4 separate regions of the Homo sapiens genome follow, and regions 1, 2 and 4 are each linked to region 3. Evidence: promoter capture Hi-C in 16 types of primary human blood cells and fetal thymus (Javierre and others, 2016). All regions are on one chromosome and are shown on one strand. Each heading gives the region's core, a stretch centred on a gene start or on the middle of the fragment in contact. The rest is flanking DNA. Distances are from core to core; before and after follow the strand shown.

The links. Contacts are between HindIII fragments. The CHiCAGO score rates a contact against its expected background, and 5 or more counts as called.
Region 1: a fragment that was not itself captured here is called in contact with the fragment with the promoter of LINC00853 in region 3 in 1 of 17 cell types (erythroblasts); the score reaches 5.3 in erythroblasts.
Region 2: a contact is called between a fragment that was not itself captured here and the fragment with the promoter of LINC00853 in region 3, in 6 of 17 cell types (naive CD8 T cells, total B cells, total CD4 T cells and 3 more). The highest score is 8.4, in naive CD8 T cells.
Region 4: a contact is called between a fragment that was not itself captured here and the fragment with the promoter of LINC00853 in region 3, in 2 of 17 cell types (megakaryocytes and erythroblasts). The highest score is 7.2, in megakaryocytes.

What each region holds. Positions count from the first base shown.
Region 1 is chr1:46,601,607-46,604,807 of GRCh38, reverse strand. MKNK1 (MAPK interacting serine/threonine kinase 1) reads left to right here and starts at 540. Exons shown (of 13, transcript NM_001135553.4): 1 at 540-623. RefSeq lists a silencer at 359-578 and enhancers at 909-958, 726-1,226. The HindIII fragment of the contact is 3,112 bases long and covers 1-2,817 here.
Region 2 is chr1:47,698,606-47,701,559 of GRCh38, reverse strand. The region is part of intron 2 of LINC01738 (long intergenic non-protein coding RNA 1738); the gene reads right to left. Among named protein-coding and RNA genes, the nearest start is that of LINC01738, 12 kb to the right of the region's middle. The HindIII fragment of the contact is 1,743 bases long and covers 507-2,249 here.
Region 3 is chr1:47,177,374-47,180,641 of GRCh38, reverse strand. It overlaps LINC00853 (long intergenic non-protein coding RNA 853), which reads right to left and starts at 1,392. Exons shown (of 2, transcript NR_047498.1): 1 at 1,204-1,392; 2 at 303-774. CYP4A22-AS1 (CYP4A22 antisense RNA 1) reads left to right here and starts at 1,019. Exons shown (of 6, transcript NR_199717.1): 1 at 1,019-1,452; 2 at 2,193-2,517. RefSeq lists an enhancer at 1,020-1,521. The HindIII fragment of the contact is 3,617 bases long and covers 646-3,268 here.
Region 4 is chr1:46,620,220-46,623,601 of GRCh38, reverse strand. It overlaps LOC105378697 (a long non-coding RNA gene), which reads left to right. Exons shown (of 3, transcript XR_947297.2): 2 at 1,628-1,766; 3 at 1,874-1,907. Among named protein-coding and RNA genes, the nearest start is that of MOB3C, 5.1 kb to the right of the region's middle. The HindIII fragment of the contact is 4,348 bases long and covers 1-3,382 here.

The DNA of each region.
Region 1 (3,201 bases), core at 12-2,511, 580 kb after region 3:
GCAGCTGCAGACTTGGGAAGGGGATGTGGGGAGACTGGTTGAGGCATTAACCTATTTACAGTTGTTTTTCCCCAAGAAATGAACTTTTAAAAGTTTTAAAAATTTTGAAATACTGGGGATAATGTTGTACTCAAGGAGAAACTCTTATGGTGAAATTCTAGGCACTCAGACTTTTAAAGAAATTGTACAGAATTGGCCCCCGTTTTAGAAAAGACTAGCAGCATTTCCCCACATATAAAAGGCATTTTAAAATTCCTTCCTGGCCTGCAGAAGCTCTCAGTACATGTTAATTACACCTGTCGCGCCCGGCCTCCTACCTTCCCGGGCTTCTCCACCCTCCATTCGGAAAAGAAAGCGCCGGAGGAGCTAAGCCCCACCCGCTTGCCAGCAATCTCCCCTCTCCCCGCCTCTTCCCTGTCACGCCTGCGCAGTTCGCTCAGCTCGAGCCCCCTGCCCTCAGGCGGCCCTGGGTAGCCATCAGGGCGCAGGCGCAGCTCCGCCCCCTCACCCTCCTCTCTGATCGGGCCCACCCCCTGGATCTAGCACCGCCTCTTCCGCGTTCTCGGAGGAGCGATCTGCAGGTAGGGGTGCGCGCGACCGCTCCCCGGCGGGAGCCAGCGAAGGTAAAAGCGAGACCTGCGAGGTATTCCTCCGAGCTAAATGGGGCCGGGGTCTGTGAGTGAGCTCGTGTGCCCGGAAGGGGGCAGTCAGGGCCTTCACGGCTGCCCGAGGTCACGACGCGATTCAGCTGCGGAGGGACAGCCTAAGGGGACGCTTTTCAGGACTGTCCCGAGCTGTCTGCGACCTCTGTGCCTGGGGTCGGGGCGTGGCCGGTGTCCGAGATGGCGCTTACTCTGTGGCCCGTTTGAGACTCAGTCTCTCCCAGGGATCAGGACCGAGGCTATGGCTGGGCGCAGGGCTCAGGCAGTCCAGTATCATGAATAGTTTTTCACGTGAGGAATTTGTGAAATCTGTGTACTGCGTTATTTTTAAGTTAATTGTTTTCATTTATTTTCAGTATTTAAAGGCTCCTGCCTGTGTGGATGGCTGTCCACAGGGAAAGGTAATAAGAGTGTCAGGTGCACCCTGTCTTCTAGAGAGCTCCAAGCTCCCTGACAGTGGCAGATCAGAGGCAGGCAGGCTCACAGGAATGAAGTGTTGTTAGAAGTGCTCAACTTCAGGGTCAGGGAGTCCTGGGTTTAGATCTCATCTCTTCCACCTCTTAGCTGTGTGTCCTGGGGCAAGTCTGCTTCCCCTCCCAGAGCTTCACTTTCTTCCCTAGGAAATGGCCATAATAGGGTCATTGTGAAGGGTGAATAGGATTATATGGAAGTCACCTAGTATGGCGCCTGTCATGTAATGGGTGCTGAATACATGGTAGCTGTGATTTCTAGGAGCTTGGTCATTTTGGATTGGGGTACTTTAGAAAGGCTCTGAGAGAAGAGTTGTTGTGACCTGGGCCTTGAAGCCTCAGTGGGATTTACAGATGGAACTGACCCTGCAGAATGGGAAGGGCACCACTGCCCATGCGCCAGGCACATGCTGGACAGTAGGTGTAATGTCTCACTGGATCACCACCCATCAGCCAGGTGCTTTCAGCCCACTCTCCTTAGCTTCAGCCCTTCATTAGAGGGCTGGGCTGGAAGTGATGTGAAGAGGAAATCCAGGGTTGGGTTTTATATGGAACTGAGCCAGCTAGAGGCTTTGGTGCCCCCTCTGCCCATCTGCTCCCACCTCAACACTTCTCTCTCTGTAATCCAGAGAGTTGGTTAGGAGTCCTGTTACTCTGGTATTTTGCAGATGTTGACAGTTGTGGGGGATGGCAACTCAGATTGCATGAAGCGAAGCCATGGGAGAGGGAAGCTCTGTGAACAGGAGCTGTCAGAGCCCAGCACGTGCTTAGAAAGTGCATGTGGTCTCCTGTAATGTGGTCCCAGAGTAATTGAATTACTTAGTTCCTTTTGCATCCTCTTCATGGGTGCCCTTGTGCTCTTCCTGAGACACTACTCGGAAACCTTGGTGGGCATCATTGCCTACTATATAGAGCAGTGGTGTCCAATCTTTTGGCTTCCCTGGGCCACATTGGAAGAAGAAGAACCATCTTGGGCCACACATAAAATACACTAACATTAACAATAGCTGATGAGCTTTAAAAAAATTGCAAAAAAATCTCAGTGTTTTAAGAACGTTTATGAATTTGTGTTGGACCACATTCAGAGCCATCCAGGGCCGCGGGTTGGACAAGCTGGATGTAGAGTTTGGACTCCAGCCTCAGACAAGTTCCTGCACAATTTGTTCCCACACCTCTCCCCTCCCTGTTTCCCTTGGTTTTCCCAAACCTGCAACCTGTGCTTCAGTCAAAATAAACTAGTTGTCTCTGTTTCTCCTTTTTTTTTGAGATGGAGTCTCACTTTGTCACCCAGGCTGGAGTGCAGTGGCACAATCTCGGCTCACTGCAACCTCCACTTCCCAGGTTCAAGTGATTCTCCTGCCTCAGCCTCCTGAGTAGCTGGAATTACAGGCATGAGCCACCACACCCGGCTAATTTTTGTATTTTTAGTAGAGACGGGGTTTCGCCATGTTGGCCAGGCTGGATTCAAACTTCTGACCTCAGGTGATCCGCCTGCCTGGGCCTCCCAAAGTGCTGGTACTACAGATGTGAGCCAACGTGCCCGGCCAAATCTCTGTTTCTCAAACACTCCCTGCATGTTCCTGCTCGAGCCTTTGCTTATATTCTCTCTTCCTGGATTTCCCTCCTCCTCCTCATCTTTCAAGGCTTACATCTCTTACATCTCATGTGGCCTCCATGGTGAAGCTTTTCTGAGCCTTCTGCTGGATTAGTTGTTCCCCTTTCCATCTTCTGTAGCAAAGGCTGACCCTCTAATATAGCTCTCATCATAGTCTGCCTAGGGATATGTACACTCCATATGTACTCTGAGTACGTGGGTGGCAAGGGACCATGTCTCTTTCCTTCCTCCTCTGTCCAGCATAGGGCCAGCACATAGTAGGCCTCTTCAGTGTTTGTGGTTAAGTGAGTCAGTGACATTTTTTATTTACTAGGTTTGGCCCTTGTTTTATGAGCTGTCAGGTTCAGAATGGGACTTTGTGTTTTTCCTCCTCTTTGTGCCTAAGGAGGGCCCCAGTTTAGACTGATGCCCTAATTACAGGCATCAAAAACAAGAAAGTACAAGAATTCTGCAC
Region 2 (2,954 bases), core at 129-2,628, 520 kb before region 3:
ACAGATCATGGGAGAAACAGATCATAAACTAATAAGAAAAACATACAGTGTTAGATAAGGATAAGTGCTATAAAGAAACATCAAAGCAAGGGAATGGGATATCAAAGGAAGGGGTCAGTGACAAAATTATGGATACAGTAGCCACAGAAGGCCTCGCTAATAGGGTAACTTCTGAGAGAAGACTGGAAGGAAGCAAGAGTGAGCCCTGCAGACATCTAGAGGGAGCATCCCAGGCAAAGGGAATTAGGAGCACCAAGGCTCCAAGGCAGGAGCGTGCCCAGCATGTGCCAGGAGAGGGTAGGGCCTGTGGGGCTGGAGGGGGCACAAAGGGAGAGGATTAGGAGAACTCAGAGGGGGACGAAAGGAGCTAAGTCAAAATGGGCCTTGTCTGTCTCAGGCTCCTGGAGGTCAGGACTCTGGTGTTGGGGCCTTGGGCAGGCCCTTCCCTCTCCAGCTGATTTCTCCCAGTGGAGGATACGTGTGGTGTGGATATGATTGTGAAAGCTTTGAGGATTATGCCATGTGCTGAGCAAAACTCAGACCCTGTGGCCAGGTGGGGTGGCTCACTCCTGTAATCCCAGCACTTTGGGAGGCCGAGATGGGTGGATCACCTGAGGTCAGGAGTTCAAGATCAGCCTGGCCAACATGGTGAAACCCCATCTCTACTAAAAATACAAAAATTAGCAGGGCGTGGTGGCGCATGCCTGTAATCCCAGCTATTTAAGAGGCTGAGGCAATAGAATCGCTTGAACCCAGGAGATGGAGGTTGCAGTGAGCCGAGGTTGCAGTGAGCCGAAATTGCACCACTGCACTCCAGCCTGGTGACAGAGCGAGACTCCATCTCAAAAAAAAAAAAAAAAAAAAAAAGCAGCCAGGCATGGTGGTGTGCGTCTGTAGTCCCAGCCACTCAGGAGGCTAAGGCAGGAGAATTGCTTGAACCCAGGAGGCGGAGGTTGCAGTGAGCCGAGATCACACCACTGCACTCCAGCCTGGGCAACAGAGTGAGACTGTCTCAAAAAAAAAGAAAAATCCAGCCCTGCAGGCCCTGAGATTCTCCAGGTTAAAGTCACAAACACCCACCCTTTCTGAGACTAAAGTTTGGGAGATGCTAAGATGGTAGCAGTGCTGCCAACCTCAGGATGCAGAGGGCCTTACCTCTCCCCACCCACCTGCTGCTCCTGCACCCTGGGAAACAAAAGAGGGGCTGACTTCAGGCCACAGTGGCCTAGTGGCCTCTAGGCCTTGTGTCCACAAATACTGTGTCACACGGCTTGGGGTCTTTTCCTTCACAATGAATTCATCTTCATCCATCATTCCATTAATTATTCTCCCCAGTATTCTTTTATTCATGTACATATTCATTTCCTCCCTCATTCTATTTGTTTACTCCTTTCTTCACTCATACACATATTCATTTTCCTCCCTCCTCAAACTTATCACAAGAGTAACTAAATACATCATAGATTGTGCAACTCCCAGTGTCTGCCTGACTTCTCAGCTACAATGTGAAAGATGAGGGCAGGAAGCATGTCTTCTTCACAGCTGTGATACCAGCATCTGGCCCCATGCAGAGCCCATAGCATGTGCTCTATAAATGGATTTCTACAGCCATCCATTCACTGCACGTGCATTCATTCTTTAGGCATTCCTCAAACCTCCGTGTGTACCAAAACCTGGGCCAGACACATTTCAGAAGAGGGAGAAGCAAGAAGAAAATATAGGATAAATTATCCCAGCCCCTGTCATCCACCATTCCATTCATCCATCCAATAAACGTTTACCAATGACACTTAGTACTGAATCCTGAGCCGGCAACTGCTTATGCAACTGCTTGCATAAGGATGATCAAGGGAAGGCTGAGGTTGAGCCGCAGCTGGGCCTCAGAGAATGGGCAAAATGTCAGGAGGAAATGTAGCCAGGGGAGAGGGAATGGCAGGAACAGAGGTTTCCATGAACATCACCCTGCCTGGTGGTTAGGGTACAACTGCTATCAAGATAGCTTGGGGCAAATCATGGAGGCATTTAATTGTCAGGCATGAGAGTTTCCTGGGCTCCAGAGGAACTTGATCTCGGCCTGTCATTTCCAGGTGTGAGAAGGCAGGTGAGGCAGGCAGCGCTGAAGGTTTCAGGTTGGTTGCTCCTGGGCAGAGTATGATTTCCTGTTTGCCTAGAGAGGAAGAAAAGGCCTTCGAAAGACAGTGAAGGTTCTCCAACAGGCCACACAAGCTCAAAATGGCTCAGACAAAGCTTTGTGATGACTTTAATGCAAATGAACTAAAAGTATATGGATTAAATTTTCCTCCCTAAAATACATGAGCTGTGGAAACAGAAAGGTGTGTATTTAAATGTAGGCCCCTTGAGCTCTCTCTAAGCCTGTCTTAGCGCAATGATACACCATGGACGCGGTTAACTCTGCAGGTGCCACAGTTCCACCCAACAGCTTTGGACCTAATCAAGGATAAAGGGGTCTCAGCCCTCTAATGCTGCAGCTCCCCTCCCCAAATCTTCTGGGCCCTGGCAGGTCCTGGCAGAGATCCTGGGCCCACTCTTGGCCTCTTTGACCAGGAAAAATTTGCTCCCGGGCTTAGGTCTTCAAAAAACACCAGCTCTTTCTGGCTAGCCAGGAAGGAGAGTAAACACCAAATAATAACAAAACAATAGGTATAATTTTAATATTTATTCTTTCACATGTAAACACATTCATCTAACAAAAGACTGAATCAGTATCTCCTTTGACCCTCATCAGAAGCTGAGGGGATAGTTGGCAGTGGGTGGAGGGGGGCGAGGGGGATTATTATCCTCATTTTACAGATGAGGAAGCTCAAGTCCAGAGAGGTTAAAGTGACTTTTGTGAATGTCACACCTCTGCTACAGTGCTCTAATAAGCCCACTGCACCAAACTTCCAAATTGGTAAGATCATGGCATCCTTTTTCAGTGAAGAGTGTGTCCCGGA
Region 3 (3,268 bases), core at 143-2,642:
ACTGTTGAGGACATTTTTGCTCTTCCTGGAACAGGGCTTGCACCTTGTTTTCCCCTCTCCCACCTAAAACATGTAAGTTTCATAGGGTTACATTATAGGTTATACCCAAACTCAGGCAGAAAAGAAAAGCCTCCACCCAGCAACTGCACAGTTGAGGGAAGACTGCAGCACTGCTTACTTCATTTAGACTTGAAGAGGAACTTCCAGCCAGGAGTTGGCTTTGAAAACAGGCTGTGGAGTTCCGTCTCCAGAGTGCCAGGTGGTCAAGGGGAGTTTCAAGATTACTGCCGTCATACTCAGAGTGACACATGCAGAAATACTATCTGTTTATTGTGCTTCAAGGATCCATTAGATCAGGACTATTGCTGGGCAAAGCCTCTTCCCGCAGCCTAGGGGTAGTAAAGGTGGGGGTAGAGGTGCTGGGGCTGGGGCCAGAATCACACACAGTCTGCTCTGGCCTCTACCCACCTTCACAGGGAAGTCAGGTGGCTGAAGCCAGCAGAACTTGCTCTGGGACCAGGGTGGAGGCACCTGCCTCCCATCCAGACCTGGCTGGAGGGTCTTGACTCCCTAGCTTGGCTCTCCTCCCAGGGTTTTTTTTTTTTTTTTTTTTTGTCCCTGGCAGTGCAGGGGTGGCCAAAAGCTTGAGCTTGGGAATCATGCCGATTGGTTCAAATTCCAGCCTGCTCCTCGATGCTTGTGGGATCGCCTAGCCTTTCAGATCTTCCATTCCTTTGCCGGTAAAATTGGCTCTATAGTACATTCCTTGCAGGGCTGCTGGGAGGAAACAGAGATGACATCCGTGTTATTATTGCTCCTGAGACTTGCCAGAAAGCCCTCCATGATCAGCGTAGATGCCATTTCTTCCCAGATGCTCCTTTCCCCACTCCTGGGTTCAGCACTTCCTCCGGGCAACTTCAGCCCCTGCTCCTCCCTCTCTTTGCACCCGCCCCACCTGCCCCACTCACTCCACCCACCCCAGGGTGCTGTCTACTTGTCTGCATCCTGCTCCTGCCCTGGGTCTGGGAGCTCCTCAAGGGCAGGAATGGAGTGACTTCCCTCTCTGTGCACCCAGGACAGGGCTGGACAGGAGAAGGGAAGCCCAAGGAGTGGTGAAGAGCCCCGAAGGAAGGGACTAAACTCCAGCCATCTGTCCCGCGGTGTCTGTTCATACTCCTCCTCCGTGCACGGGCTCAGACATACATATGCGCATATGCTCTGTCTCTTTCTGGTTGAAGGTCCTGGGAGCCCTCCGGAACTCTGCTGCCTGGCAGTCCTTCAGTTTCGGGAGCTTTTCTGTCTGCCCGTGGCCTCGGCTGCCACCTGGTGGCTGCACGCTCCAAAGGAAGCGTAGATTGATGAGAGCCTCGGAAGTTGAGCTTCAGGCGCGGCTCTTCCCCGTCACACTGGGACCGGACGCATTTCCATGGCGTGGTCCCAGGAACCTCTCAGGTCATGCCAGCAACTGGGACTTCCTGTGGAATGCAAGGGCAGTGGGGCCTCCGCGAGAGAGAGAGAGAGAGAGAGAGAGAGAAGAGAGAGATATTAAGGATGAATCCCAGTGTCTGCTCTGAGCAAATTGGAAGACGATGGCATCAGGGGCACTGCTCTGGGCTATATAGACTGTGCCTCCACTAAAGGGTCCCTGAGACCAGGTGTGGGCCCGTATCCCTGGAGGGAGAGGTAACTTCCTCTGATTCGAAGGCATCATATAGGCTAGTGAATGGCACTGAGAATGGCAGATGCCAGGGACAAGCAGGAGCATGTGTGGGATGAGGATGCGGCGTGGATGTGTGACGTTTCAGAGCCTGCAACACATCCGTAGGGAAGTCCTGGAGGAGCAGTTGGGTGCATGGTGGAGTTCTGAAACAGCTGGGCAGTCGGCACTTGAGCCAGAGATTCTGCTTTCGACCTGGATGCCCATTGAGAGGTTAAGAGCTCAGGTCTGGGTCAGGCAGCTTGGAAGCAGCACAGCTTGGACACTTGGTAGCCTGGGACTGTGGTTAAATCAACGTGACTCTCGGAGCTCCAGTTCACTGTAAATTAGGGCAGTAAATGATGTCTACATGATAAGTGGTGTTATGAATGTTAAACATTCACATGAAATACATAGAATAGTGCTTAGCATACAGTACACAATAACTGTTAGCTATTTGGAAAATTACTATTGTTATTATGATTATTTATTACAGAGTGAACTGAATTGGATGCAAGATCACGGTGCGTCAGAGCTAGCAAGATCCTTAGGATCATTTAGCCTGGTTTACTAATATTACACTATGGAATTTAAGCCCAAGGAATGGAGAGTACCCGACGAGCGTTATGTAAGGAGTCGAGTGAGAAGTAAGCTGGATGCTCTGCTTGGCTGGCAGGTACAGAATGTGCCAGACCCATCTGTACCAGCCTGGATCTCTTGAGGCATCAGCACAATGGACCTGGCCACACCAGTTTATTCCACACCGCTGAGGCTGGTACAGTTCTGGACATGGACTTTGTAAATAAATAACTGGGCCTTTGGTCAGTTCTAGCTGTGAGCTTGGAGGTATGGGGTGGGATGGTGAGGACAGGTGGGGGCAAAGTGAGGAAAGGGGCAGGGAGGAGAGGGGAGAGAGAAAAAGGGGAATGAGACAGGCTGAGCTAGTGAGCTGGAATTGGAGGTTGGGAACAGGCTTTCCTTGATGGTGGTGGTGCTGTTTTCTTTTTAATTTTAATTTAATTTTATTTTAAGTTCCAGGCTACATGTGCAGGATGTACAGGTTTGTTACATAGGTAAAAACATGGTGGTTTGCTGCAACTGTCAACCCATCACCTAGATATTAAGCCCAGCATGCATTAGCTATTTATCCTGATGCTCTCCCCACCCCTGCCCCAACAGGCCCCACTGTATGTTGTTCCCCTCTTTTTTGTTCACTTAAAAGATCCCACTTTTAAGTGAGAGTATGCAGTGTTTGGTTTTCTGTTCCTGTGTTACTTTGCTGAGGATAATGGCCTCCAGCTCCATCCATGTCCCTGCAAAGTACATGATCTCATTCCTTTTTATGTCTGCATAGTATTCCATGGTATATATGTACCATATTTTCCTTATCTAGTCTATCATTTATGGGCATTTGGGTTGATTCCATGTCTTTGCTACTGTGAATAGTGCTGCAATGAACATATGCTTGCATGTATCATTATTTTTTTATTTTTTTTGAGATGGAGTCTTACTCCCTCACCCAGGCTGGAGTGCAATGGTGCAATCTCTGCTCACTGCAACCTCCTCCTCCCG
Region 4 (3,382 bases), core at 415-2,914, 560 kb after region 3:
AGTCTCAGCTCTGCTTGCTTGCTTGCTTGCTTGCTTGCTTGCTTGCTTGCTTGCTTGCTTGCTTTTTAAAGACAAAAGTCTTGTTCTGTCACCTAGGCTAGAGTGCTTTGGAACAGTCTTGGCTCACTGCAACCTCCGCCTCCCAGGCTCAAACAATCCTCCTGCCTCAGCCTCCTGAATAGCTGAGACCATGGGCATGCACCACCGCACCTGGCTAATTTTTGTATTTTCTTAGTAGAGATGGGGTTTCGCCATGTTGCCCAGGCTGGTCTCTAACTCCTGAGCTCAAGCAATCTGCCACCTCAGCCTCCCAAAGTGCTAGGATTACAGGCATGAGCCACCCCACCCGGCCCTGCTCTGCCATTTCAAGCTGTGCTTCTTGGCCAAGTCATTTCACCTTTTGGAGCCAATACTCACATTCCAAGGTTGTTACAGGGCTCAAAAATGACCAGAGTAGGCCGGGCACGGTGGCTCACGCATGTAATCCCAGCACTTTGGGAGGCTGAGGCGGAAAGATCACCTGAGGTCAGGAGTTCAAGACCAGCCTGGCCAACAATGGCGAAACCCTGTCTCTACAAAAATTAGCTGGGCGTGATGGTGTGTGCCTGTAATCCCAGCTACTCAGGAGGCTGAGGAAGGAGAATCACTTGAACCTGGGAGGCGGAGGTTGCAGTAAGCCGAGATCACGCCATTGTACTCCAGCCTAGGTGACAGAGCGAGACTCCATCTCAAAAAAAAAAAGAGTAGTAAAAGCACTTTGTAAACCAGAACATTCCTTACAACTGTCAGTTGCTGCTACAAGGTAACATGGGAGGAGGCAAAATAAATAAAAACCCAATTCTAAGGGCTTATAGTCCAAAAGGGAAGACACAACCTCCATGGGCTTAACCAAGGAGTGCATCTGCAAACCACTGAGAACTTTTTGTGTCAAGGGCTCCCCCCTGAGGAGGGTTGGTTCCAGGCAGCTGGTGTAATTTAGGAAAACTTCCTGGGAAAGCCAAGAGCATACCCTTAGTCTGCTTAGCCTTAGGCAAAGCGGAGCTCCTACAGCTACTTCTTGAAAAGGCCCCAAATGCAATTTGATGACATTCTGCAGGAAGTCACAAGCTGTACTTGTGTGGAATCCAGACTCTACGGGGTGCAGCATGAGTCTCCAATAAGAAGTGGACTCCACCCACTGAATTGCTGCTTCCCGCTGCAGCAGACACAGCTCTCCCATCTCCTGGACATGAAGCCAAGATGGGACCCAAAGAGAGCTGCAGTGTAGAGTTTGGAACGTCATCTAAACACGGCCAATCCCTTCTCTCTACTTAGTGGAACTTTCTTTCCAGCCCCTCCGTCCCTCTCTGAAGGGAAGAACAACTTAAAAGCTCTAGAAAGATAAACCTCCCTCTCTCCCAGGGTTGCTGAGAAGAAGAAATGAGAATATGCCTCTCAGGGAGAGGCATACGTAAGGTTCACTGAATGGTTTTTATTGTCATGATTCATCATTGGGCTGATCTCTTCCTCTCCCTATGTCTCAGTTTTCCACATACTTCGAGGAGATTAGACTAAATGATATCCAAGAACCTTTCCCTTTTACAAGCCACTCCTCCCTGACCTGTTGTTCAATAATATTCCTTTGTAGCCAGTGGGACTCGTGGGCCCAGTGGAAGTTCCTTAGAAGACCGAGGCCTTTGTCACCACCCACAAAGCAAGGGGAAGGTCTGCAACTGGCCAACACAGTGCCTGACATCTAACGGGCCCTCAGTAAATACTTGTGGAATGTAAGAATGAATGAACAAATAGAAGAAATTGATGTGTTTTCACACCACCATAATAGTTGAAATCATAATTTACTACCATTATTTTATTTTTTTTCTTTTTGAGACAGAGTCTCGCTGTATCACTCAAGCTGGATCTCGGCTCACTGCAACATCTGCCTCCTGGGTTCAAGCGATTCTCCTGCTTCAGCCTCCTGAGTAGCTGGTATTACAGGTGCAAGCCACCATGCCCGGCTAATTTTTGTGTTTTTAGTAGAGGCAGGGTTTTGCCATGTTGGCCAAGCTGGTCTCAAACTCCTGACCTCTTATGATTCGCCCGCCTTGGCCTCCCAAAGTGCTGGGATTACAGGCATGAGTCACTGCGCCCAGCCATAATTTACTACCATTATTGCTAAAAGATAACACCCAGCTCTCTGGGGACCATAAGAAACCCCCATCCCTGCTGGCAACTCTGAGGCAGGGAGGCAGGTGTTACTGAACACACTTGGAGAAAGGATGCTGTGCTGTGGAGGAAGGAGGAGGGTGCATCCAGACTGGGGCAATCTGAGGGCTTTCTATAGAAGAGCTTTGAACTAAGTGGGGGTTGCTCCAGGCGGCAGCCCCAGAGGCTGACATGGAGGCACCCCAGCAGCAGAGAAGGGGCTAGGTTGGACAGAATTTCCTGGGCAGCCTTCATAGTGGGTTCCATGGAAAGCTGAGCCTGGAACACTGGTGAAACCACCCCTCCCCCACAACTATCACCTCCACTCGTGGGGCACCCCAGGCTGGGAACTAACCCAAGTGGTTGGAGGGGACAATGCCTACTGGGGCCATGTTGAGGGTGAGGTCTGAGGGCTGTGAAATTGTCTTCAGGCACTTATACACACTAGGCTTCCACCCAGCCTCCAGAGGTCTCCTTCCCAAGATGGAAGAGATGAGAGGAATGCCTCTACCTTAAGGGGAGATGGCTGGGAAGGAGGAGGAGCTTGGAGCAGAGAACACTGGAGCCTGAGGTTCTTAGAGGCAAGACGGCCCTCCCCGTCTCTGGAGGGACTGAAACCCTCTGAAGTCCATGTCACCCGGGACTGGTAACTTCTGCTTGCACCACTCCCTCTTGAGAGAACAGCACAGCCATCCCGGCTGCATGGTTGGACAGCTCTGATGTGCCAAGCGCCCCTTCATATTGTCCTGGGTGTCTGCCCACTGCTCTCCAGGACCCTGGAACAAGCTCAGTCCCTCTTCCACACAAACACCTGCTGGGTGTTTGAAGGCAGTACCCCTGAAACAGACTGACCACAGCCTTCTACTGTTTACAAGTGCTATCACATTTGATTCTCTCAGCTCTTCTGTGGGGCAGATGTTGTTGTTGTTGTCTTTACTTTAGAGAAGGTGAAATAGGCTCAGAGAACAAGTGCCTTGTCCATGGTCACACAGAATTTTAGTGCATGTCCTTGTCAACCTTGTCTTCCCCTGCCATCTTCCCTTGAACCTTGTCTTCTTCAAGTGAAAGGAAGTTTAACCTCAATTCCTCTGACTGCCGTAAGGGTGCCCATGGCATTCTCCTCAATGGGCCAGGATGGAAAATCCAGGACGGATGATCCTGCCTCCTGGGCAGGGAGGGGCAGAAGCTGAAATGGAAA